2 separate regions of the Homo sapiens genome follow, and region 1 is linked to region 2. The links are contacts of gene promoters, found by promoter capture Hi-C in blood cells and fetal thymus (Javierre and others, 2016). All regions are on one chromosome and are shown on one strand. The core of a region is centred on a gene start or on the middle of the fragment in contact, and the rest is flanking DNA. Distances in the headings are between cores, read along the strand shown. Region 1 has its middle 12 kb from the start of SLC29A2. Region 2 holds the start of RCE1 (Ras converting CAAX endopeptidase 1).

Region 1 (5,200 bases), core at 1,764-4,263, 460 kb before region 2:
TTTTGTTTTTTTTTTGAAACTTAGTCTCGCTCTGTCTCCCAGGCTGGAGTGCAACGGCGCGATCTGGGCTCACTGCAAGCTCCGCCTCCCGGGTTGACGCCATTCTCCTGCCTCAGCCTCCCGAGAAGCTGGGACTACAGGCGCCCGCCACCACCAGGCGCCCGGCTAATATTCTGTATTTTGTTTAGTAGAGACGGGGTTTCACCGTGTTAGCCAGGATGGTCTCAATTTCCTGACCTCGTGATCCACCTGCCTTGGCCTCCCAAAGTGCTGGAAAGAAAGATGTTTTTATATGTTCCCTAGCATTTTTTTTGAGATGGAGTTTTGCTCTTGTTGCCCAGGCTGGAGTGCAATGCTGTGATCTCAGCTCACCACAACCTCCACCTCCTGGGTTCAAGCGATTCTCCTGCCTCAGTCTCCCAGGTAGCTGGAGTTACAGGCATGCGCCACCACGCCCAGCTAATTTTGTATTTTTAGTAGAGACGGGGTTTCTCCATGTTGGTCAGGCTGGTCTCAAACTCCCGACCTCAGGTGATCTGCCCACCTCGGCCTCCCAAAGTACTGGGATTACAGGCGTGAGCCACCGTGCCTGGCCTTCTCCGGCATTTTAGTTGCACTATACCGGGAGCAGTTTCTCTGAATCATATTGCCTGACTCCTTAAACTTGTTTTTGTTTAATAACGTTGTTCATTGTATAGCTAAACCATAATGTTTTAAAGTAGTCCCCTATTGGCTGGGTGTAGTGGCTCACGCCTGTAATTCCAGTACTTTGGGAGGCCAAGATGGGAGGATCTCTTGAGACCAGGAGTTCGAGACCAGTCTGGTCAACATAGTGTGACCTCATCTCTTAAAAAAAAGAAAAAATGGCCGGGCGCGGTGGCTCATGCCTGTAATCCCAGCACTTTGGGAGGTCGAGGCGGGCGGATCACGAGGTCAGGAGATCGAGACCATCCTGGCTAACATGGTGAAATCCCGTCTCTACTAAAAATACAAAAAAAATTAGCAGGGCGTGGTGACTGGGGCCTGTAGTCCCAGCTACTTGGGCGGCTGAGGCAGGAGAATGGCGGGAACCCAGGAGGCGGAGCTTGCAGTGAGCCGAGATCACGCCACTGCACTCCAGCCTGGGTGACAGAGCGAGACTACGTCTTAAAAAAAGAAAAGAAAAAAAAAAGAAAAGAAAAGAAAAAAGAAAAAAGGCTGAGAGGCTGAGGCAGGAGAATCGCTTGAACCCGGGAGGTGGAGACTGCAGTGACTCGAGATTGCGCCACTGCACTCCAGCCTGGGCAACAAGAGCGAGACTCCATCTCAAAAAAAAAAAAAAAAAAGTAGTCCCCTATCGATGGACATTTACGTTAGATTGTTTCCAATCTAGAAAAAAGTACAAAAAGAAAAAAAAGCATAAAATAAACAAGAAACAAAAACAAACACAAAAATAAAATAGATGATTTCCATTCATCTGTTATTATAAATAATGGTGCAATGAATAACATTTGGGAGTTTATCTGTAGGTGAAATTCCTAGAAGTGGAAATGCTTTCGAGGATATATACAGCTAAATTTTTTTTACACCTGTAATTTTAATAGATGCTGCTAAATTGCTCTCCACAGAGATTGCACCAGTTCACAGTTCCACCAGCTATATATGTTGGTGCCTGTTATCCAGCCAGCAGGATGTTGTTAAATGTTTTGTTCTTTTTTTTTTTTTTTTTGAGACAGAGTTTTGCTCTTGTTGCCCAGGCTGGAGTGCAATGGCGCGATCTTGGCTCACTACAACCTCTGCCTCCCGGGTTCAAGCAACTCTGCCTCCCGGGTTCAAGCAACTCTGCCTCAGCCTCCTGAATAGCTGGAATTACAGGCATGCGCCACCACGCCTGGCTAATTTTTTTTTTTTTGTATTTTTCGTAGAGACGGGGTTTCTCAATGTTGGTCAGGCTGGTCTTGAACTCCCAACCTCAGGTAATCCGCCCACCTCAGCCTCTCAAAGTGCTGAGATTATAGGTGTCAGCCACTGCACCTAGCACTTTTTTTTTTTTTTTTTTTTTTTTTTGAGACAGAGTTTCATTCTTGTTGCCCAGGCTGGAATGCAATGGGCGATCTTGGCTCACTGAAACTTCTGCCTCCTGGGTTCAAGCGATTCTCCTGCCTCAGCCTCTCGAGTAGCTGGGATTACAGCAGCGCGCCACCACGCCTGGCTAATTTTTTGTAGTTTTGGTAGAGATGGGGTTTCACCAAGTTGGTGAGGCTGGTCTCGAACTCCTGACCTCAGGCGATCTGCCCTCCTCGGCCTCCCAAAGTACTGGGATTATAGGCGTGAGCCACCGTGCCCAGCCTAAATGTTTTGTTCTTAACCAAACTGTAGGTGGAAACTGGTATCAGTATAGTTTCAATTGGCATTAACCTTTTGCTGTGGGTTAGCAACTTTTAATAGTTAAATCATATAAAGTTGTCAGTTTTATAAGTCAAAAGTCAATATTGGCAACTTTATATATGGTTCAAGCTAATCTATTTAAAAGCCTCTTTTTCTGAGAACTGTTTCTGTTATTTGTCCATTTTTCTACTGGGTTGTTGCTCTTTTTGTTGCTTCTTAATAGTGAATGGCAAGAGGTCTTTTTTTTTTTTTTTTTTTTTTGAGACGGAGTCCCGCTCTGTCGCCCAGGCTGGAGAGCGCAGTGGCGCAATCTCTGCTCACTGCAAGCTCCGCCTCCCGGGTTCATGCCATTCTCCTGCCTCAGCCTCCCAAGTAGCTGGGACTACAGGCGCCTGCCACCACGCCCAGCTAATTTTTTGTATTTTTAGTAAAGACGGGGTTTCACAGAGTTAGCCAGGATGGCATCGATCTCCTGACCTCATGATCCACCCACCTTGGCCTCCCAAAGTGCTGGGATTACAGGCATGAGCCACCGCACCCGGCCGGCAAGAGGTGGCCTCCCAAAGTACTGGGATTACAGGCGTGAGCCAACCGCACCCGGCCGGCAAGAGGTCTTTATTTTGGGAAAATTAAACGTTTGTGTGTCATACGAGTTGTGAATTTTTTCTTAGTTTGTCACTTGACTTTGCTGATGGTGGTTTTTCTCTGCGGATTCTTTTTGTTTTTGTTTTTGTTTTGAGATGGGGTCTCACTTTGTCACCCAGGCTGGAGTGCAGTGGCATGATCTCGGCTCACTGCAACCTCCACCTCCCAGGCTCAAGCCATCTTCCCACCTCAGCCTCCTGAGTAGCTGGGACTACAGATGCACGCCACCATGCCCGGCTAATTTTTTGTATTTTTGGTAGAGACAGGGTTTCACCATGTTGCCTGGGCTGTTCTCAAACTCCTGAGCTCAAGCAATCCGCCCGCCTTGGCCTCTCAAAGTGCTGGGATTACAGGCATAAGCCACTGCACCTGGCCTATGCAGATATTCTTGATGTCGACTTTGGTCACCTGGTTAAGTCACGTTTGCCAAGTTTATCTAGTATAAAGTTACTATTTGTCAGCCGGGCACGGTGGCTCACGCCTGTAATCCTAGCTTGGGAGGGAGACAGAGGCGGGCGGATCATGAGGTCAAGAGATCGAGACCATTCTGGCCAACACGGTGAAACCCCCGTCTCTACTAAAAATACAAAACTTAGCTAGGCATGGTGGCACACCCCTGTAGTCCCAGCTACTTGGGAGGCTGAGCCAGGAGAATCGCTTGAAACTGGGAGCCAGAGAGCTGAGATCATGCCACTGCACTCCATCCTGGGAGACAGAGCAAGACTCCGTCTCAAAAAAAAAAAAGTTATTATTTGTCCTTTCCATACCCTATTCTTTGGAGGCTAGTTGCTAAGTCCAGCCTACAGTTACAGGAGGATGGTACTAAGCTCTACCTCTTGGATTAAGGAGTATCTCTATATATTACATATTATTTGAAATTCTTCTGTAAGGATGATTTGTCTCTTCTCCCCTATTTGCTTATTTATTCAATTATTTTATATCAGTATGATCAGTATAGACTCATGTGGATATATTTCATACTTTGACTTATAATTCAATACCATGCTATTTACTTTGTTGCTCAAATTGTTCCAGCATTGGCTGCTGGAATTTCTTTCAAGTTGGCTTCCATGGCCCTGTGACATGTGACAGGCTTTTTTTTTTTTTTTTTTGAGACAGAGTCTTGCTCTGTCGCCCAAGCTGGAGTGCAGTGGCACGATCTCGGCTCACTGCAAGCTCCGCCTCCCGGGTTCACACCATTCTCCTGCCTCGGCCTCCTGAGTAGCTGGGACTACTGGCGCCTGCCACAACGCCCGGCTAATTTTTTTTTCGTATTTTCAGTAGAGGCGAGGTTTCACCGTGTTAGCCAGGATGGTCTCGATCTCCTGACATGGCGATCTGCCCGCCTTGGCCTCCCAAAGTGCTGGGATTACAGGCATGAGCCACCGCGCCTGGCCTTTTTTTTTTTTTTTTTTTTTTTTAATAATCAGAATCTCATTCTGTTGCCAGGCTGGAGTGCAGGGGTGTGATTATACCTCATGGCAGCCTTGAACTCTTGGGCTCAAGCAATCCTCCCACCTCAGCCTCCTGAGAAACTGGGACTATAGGTATGTATCACCATGTCCAGCTAATGTAATTTTTTTTTTTTTTTTTTGAGATGGAGTCCCTCTCTGTTGCCCAGGCTGGAGTGCAGTGGCGCCATCTGGGCTCACTGCAACCTCCGCCTCCCAGGTTCAAGCTATTCTTCTGCCTCAGCCTCCCGAGTAACTGGGATTACAGGCAAGAGCCACCATGCCTGGCTAATTTTTGTATTTTTAGTAGAGATGGGGTTTCACCATGTTGGCCAGGCTGGTCACCAACTCCTGACCTCAGGTGATCCACCTGCCTTGGCCTCCCAAAGTGCTGGGATTACAGTCGTGAGCCACCGCTCCTGGCCAAGACCATGTTTCTTAAAAAACAAACAAACAACAACAACAAAACAAATATCTATATCTATATCTATATATCTATATATATAGATATAGATATATATACACACACACACATAAGCAGAGGGACAGGAACCAAGAACATCACACGATTTCACATCCTAGGGTCCTCCAGAGCTCAGATTATAGATGGATGGCCGGGAGGGGGTGTCTACCACTCTAATTTGTTAATCACCAGAGAATCGCTTGAACCCGGGAGACGGAGGTTGCACTGAGCTAAGATTGCGCCATTACACTCCAGCTTGGGCAACAGAGCGAGA
Region 2 (5,130 bases), core at 2,393-4,892:
AAAAATTAACATTTAATTCAGTACCTTCTGTGGACCCTGGGGAGATGCTGGGGTCTTCCACAGCCTTATCTCATTTAGTCTTTACAGTGCCCTTCTGGGGGCAGGGGGAGGCATGGATCCTAACAAACTAGAGGACCCAGGCTCAGGTGAGGCAGAACGCTTAGCAGGAGGTAATGACTTTCAGTTTGCCGCCTCCAAAGCCCATGTTTTCTCCAGTGTGCAACATGAGCTTTAAAATCTAGGTGTTTATAATCTGGTGGAACCCCTGGAGGATGGCTTGGGCTGTTCTGTCCTACAGACCTGTGGCTCTCAGCATCCATTCTACGCCTCACATGGGCAGCCCTGCTGAAGAAAATCACCAAACTGTGTGTTGATGCCACCATCCATTGGTGGTCCACTCACTCAGGAGCCTTTGGTTTGTCAGTCCTTCCCCCTGCCTTTCTGGCCTTTGTCCCTCAGTGGCTACTCCATTCTTTAAAAAATCTACCCAGTCTCTGCCTCCTGCTTCATACTTACGGATCTCTTTTCTCAGTAAACTCACCCAACTTGCACCCTCCCACTGCAGAACCTCATCAGTGTGGGGACCCATTTCCTCCAGGCTCACAGTGGGATCGTCCCTTCTGCTTTCTTGGGACCTGCTTGCATCAGTTATCACTGCTGCACCTTCAGCCTTCCCCTGAGTTCCTTTCCCTCAGCAGGTCAAGCTCTCATTTCATCAGAAGAAAATCTCCCGTGACCTTGAACTTCCTCCACTTATCCTCAACCTCTCTCCCTCACATCTCAGCCAAGGATCTCAAAACCACAAGCTGCATGCACCCTGTCTCCCTTTCTTCCTCTCATTCTCTCCCTCACTTAGGGTACTTGCTTTTTCTGTGGCCTCTGAAACTTCTCTCCTCAGGGAAGGCCTCTTAATTACCAAATTTTGCATTTACCTTCATTGTATCTGAACTATGTGCAAAATTTGGCACTGTAAGGCTATGACTCGCCTGGTTTTTCCCTCCCTGGGCTTTTCTCTTCATCTACTTTCCTCTGGTCATGCCTAAATAGTGCTCATCCTGCTCTCCCACCCAGCTATCTTCCATCCCAACTGTTGACCACTGCCTCTGGGCTCAAGACTCTCAAATTGGTATGACCAGCCAAGGCCTCTGCTGAGTGCCAGCTGGGAGATTCATTTGCTCACTAGGCAGCTCCTCGTGGAGGTCCCATTGGTACCTCAGTTTCCTCTCTCCTGACTAAAGAGACTTTTAGTCTGTTTCATGATTAATCCAATTTATCACATCTGAAATCTTGGATTCATTCAAGAGGCCTCTCATTTTTTTTTTTTTTTTTTTTTTTTGAGACAGAGTCTCCCTCTGTTGCCCAGACTGGAGTGCAGTGGCGTGATCTCGGCTCACTGCAACCTCCCTGCCTCCCAAGTTCAAGTGATTCTCTTGCCTCAGCCTCTGAGTAGTTGGGATTACAGGCGCCCACCACCATGCCCAGCTAATTTTTGTATTTTTAGTAGAGACGGGGTTTCACCATGTTGGCCAAGCTGGTCTCAATCTCCTGACCTCGTGATCTGCCCGCCTCGGCCCCCCAAAGTGCTGGGATTACAGGCATGAGCCACCGCGCCCGGCCAAGAGGCCTCTCCCACATCCAGGCGCTCACAAAGGCCTATCACTTAGGCCTGATGAACACTTCTGATTCCTGGTGACGCCTCTATCTCCACTGTCTTTACTTGTTATTGGGCTCTTAAGGTCTTCCTGTCTCTAGTTTGATCTAAGCCACACCTTTGAAAGAACGATCTTTCTGAAGTACAAAATTACCAATATATTTCACCAGTGCTTAAAACTCTTTATTGGCTTCCTGTCTTCTACAGATGAAAATCTGTTTCTAGCCAGGCAAGGTGGTGTGTGCCTTTAGTCCCAGTTACTCGAGAGGATGAGGCCGGGAGTTCAAAGCTGCAGTGAGCTACAATCACGCCACTGCACTCCAGCCTAGGTGACAGGCGAGACCTCATCTTTAAAAAGTAAAAATTTACATAGGAAGTTGTTTTATGCCTTTGCATAAGGTTTGTGTTAACTTTCAGCAAGAAATTCCCTTTCTCTCCCTTGTCTGGCATATCACTCTTCATCCTTCAAAACCCAGCTCTGGGGCAGGAGTGGTGACTTATGCCTGTAATACCGTCACTTTGGGGAGCTGGGGCGGGAGGACAGCTTGAGACTAGCCTGGGCAACACGGTGAGACCCCTGTCTCTACAAGTAAAAAAAATTAGCCGGTGTGGTGGCATGCGCCTGTGGTTCCTGGTACTCTGGAAGCTGAAGCTGAGGCAGTAGGATCGCTTGAGCCCAGGAGGTCGAGGCTGCAGTGAGCCAGGACTGAGCCACTGCACTCCAGCCTGGGCAACAGAGCAAGACCTTGTCTCAAAAAAACAAAAGGTCAGCTCAGGTATCTCCTCATGGAAACCCTTCTTCACATCCAGAGGTGGTCGGCTTCCTTCTCTATTCTAACCCTGGGCTTTGTACACAGGTCTGCATCCCCTCCTAGCATCTGTGAGCTTCTCTCAGGGAAAAGCTCATTGATCTGCATCCCCAAGACCTGCTGGGGAAGAATCTATCCATCTAAACTCGCTTTAATTTGACAAATGAATCAGTTAAGAGTAGGAAAGCTGCCTATGGGCACTGCTCAATGCAACGTGAGCAACAAAGGGAGACAGAACTGAGGCCAGAAAGGTGAGGGGGGACAGAGGCTGGCAGGGAGGGGAGCTTGTCAGTGCAGACTCCAGGAAGAATCTATACAGAAAGTTACTGAGCGGCCTGAGTCCCCCAAGTGAGGGCTCGGGACAATCTCCCGCCTGGGTGAGAGAATAGGGAGACCCTGAAACGTCTCTGCAGCCTCGGGCTGCTCCAGAAGCGCCCACAGCTGCAGGGTTTTGGTGTGGATGGGACCTGCTGACAGGGATGCGGTGGGAAGAGCCCCTCGGCGCCCGTTCTCCCAGGCTTCCCCTTGGCCAAGGGTGCTCCTAGCACAGGGCCATGAAAGTAAGATGAAGAGGCTTGTTTTTCTCCTAGATACCAGCGGGCAAGCAGAAAACAAGAGGCTCAAGAGGGGCAGCCCCCGCATAGAGGAGATGCGAGCTCTGCGCTCTGCCAGGGCCCCGAGCCCGTCAGAGGCCGCCCCGCGCCGCCCGGAAGCCACCGCGGCCCCCCTCACTCCTAGAGGAAGGGAGCACCGCGAGGCTCACGGCAGGGCCCTGGCGCCGGGCAGGGCGAGCCTCGGAAGCCGCCTGGAGGTAACTGGGCGAGGGCCGCGCAGGGAAGGGCTCAGCAGGAGGTGCAGGCCACGGGCCGCTGCTGAGAGGTCCTCACCCCGGGCCCCCTTGTTCCCGCAGGACGTGCTGTGGCTGCAGGAGGTCTCCAACCTGTCAGAGTGGCTGAGTCCCAGCCCTGGGCCCTGAGCCGGGTCCCCTTCCGCAAGCGCCCACCGATCCGGAGGCTGCGGGCAGCCGTTATCCCGTGGTTTAATAAAGCTGCCGCGCGCTCACCAAGTCCTCTTCCGCGTCTGCTTCCGCGTCGGGCCCGGGCGGGGCGGGGCGGGGCGTGGAGCCGCGCCGCGGCCTGACGTCACCCACACCTCCCTGGGACTGCGTCACTGGTGCGCGCCGCGGGTCAGGGCGCAATGGCGGCGCTGGGCGGGGATGGGCTGCGACTGCTGTCGGTGTCGCGGCCGGAGCGGCCGCCCGAGTCGGCGGCGCTGGGCGGCCTGGGCCCCGGGCTGTGCTGCTGGGTGTCAGTGTTCTCCTGCCTCAGCCTCGCCTGCTCCTACGTGGGCAGCCTCTACGTCTGGAAGAGCGAACTGCCCAGGTGCGGGGGCTGCGCGCGACCGGAATCCGCGCCCTGCGGGCGGAGCTTGGGCGAGCCGGGGGCGGGTCCGTGCTCATGGGCAGCCGCGGGCCCCCTGAACTTACTGTCCCCTCCGTAGGGACCATCCCGCGGTCATCAAGCGACGCTTCACCAGCGTCCTGGTGGTGTCCAGTCTCTCACCCCTGTGCGTGCTGCTCTGGAGGGAACTCACAGGCATCCAGGTGCGAAGGAGGCGGGGCAAAGGGCAACGGCGGTGAGAGCTCAGGGGTCTTTAGGGGAGGAAGCAAAACTGATGCCCCCTTTCCTGTGGCTCAGCCAGGCACATCCCTGCTCACCCTGATGGGCTTCAGGCTGGAGGGCATTTTCCCAGCGGCGCTGCTGCCCCTGTTGCTGACCATGGTGAGTGCTCCTGCTGTATTTTTTCTTCTGGTCTTTGTTATCAGCCTGATGGGCAGTGCCGTGGACTCTTGTTTTTGGTTTTTGGTTGATGGGAGACAGGACTTTTGAGATGGCCCCAGGGTCCTCCGGTATGCATGGTCTGGAAATCGTGGCTGGAGAGGATTTCAAGCTTGGAGTCTCAGGGAGCATGGGCAAAGGTCTGGGCAAAAGCGGTGGGTTATGGTGAAAGTGTTTTCTTGCCCTCAGATTCTTTTCCTGGGCCCACTGATGCAGCTCTCTATGGATTGCCCTTGTGACCTGGCAGATGGGCTGAAGGTTGTCCTGGGTGAGTCTTAAAGGCTGAAGGGAAAAGTAGGCACAGGCAGTCCAGGACATTGGGGCAGGGAGTCAGCGGGCTCAGGGTGTGATCTGGACACGTGAAATGTCATCTCTCTGGGTGTGTTTTCTCATCAGTAAAATGGAAACATAGAGCTAGGTGGCCTCTAAGGGTTGATTGCCAACGTCCAAGGAGTTCCCTGGGAACCCCCAGCAGTATTTGGTGTGGATCAGAGAGCACTGTCCCCTGCTTCCCCAACCAGAGCTAGTCTTGCTTAAATTTTGGTGTCTCCAGAGTTTACTTCCAGGATGCCCTTGCCTCAGCTAATGCCTTCCATTCAGGTCATCTCAAGACATTGGGTTTATGTTGGGTCCACACCCCCGTCCTCAGCAGTATTGATGCCTAACCTGAGTTTGGCCAGGGTAAAGTTGTGGGAGAGGAGCCCTTGGAGCCTCTGGGGTCTCACTGTCTGACAGCCCGTCACTCACAGCTTGTCCTGAATTCCCTCTGCAGCCCCCCGCTCCTGGGCCCGCTGCCTCACAGACATGCGTTGGCTGCGGAACCAAGTGATCG

What was found. The method cuts DNA at HindIII sites, captures the fragments that hold promoters and counts their contacts. A CHiCAGO score of 5 or more calls a contact.
Region 1: a fragment that was not itself captured here is called in contact with the fragment with the promoter of RCE1 in region 2 in 1 of 17 cell types (erythroblasts); the score reaches 5.1 in erythroblasts.

What each region holds. Positions count from the first base shown.
Region 1 is chr11:66,381,079-66,386,278 of GRCh38, forward strand. No RefSeq gene overlaps it. Among named protein-coding and RNA genes, the nearest start is that of SLC29A2, 12 kb to the left of the region's middle. RefSeq lists enhancers at 1,475-1,975, 1,976-2,476, 5,100-5,200. The HindIII fragment of the contact is 6,213 bases long and covers 1-5,200 here.
Region 2 is chr11:66,839,799-66,844,928 of GRCh38, forward strand. RCE1 (Ras converting CAAX endopeptidase 1) reads left to right here and starts at 3,643. Exons shown (of 8, transcript NM_005133.3): 1 at 3,643-3,842; 2 at 3,961-4,063; 3 at 4,158-4,241; 4 at 4,488-4,566; 5 at 5,071-5,130. The coding sequence starts at 3,658. It overlaps TOP6BL (TOP6B like initiator of meiotic double strand breaks), which reads left to right. Exons shown (of 15, transcript NM_001302084.2): 14 at 3,051-3,271; 15 at 3,371-3,718. The coding sequence ends at 3,436. RefSeq lists silencers at 1,840-1,966, 3,184-3,323, 3,434-3,873 and an enhancer at 3,514-4,220. The HindIII fragment of the contact is 21,944 bases long and covers 1-4,408 here.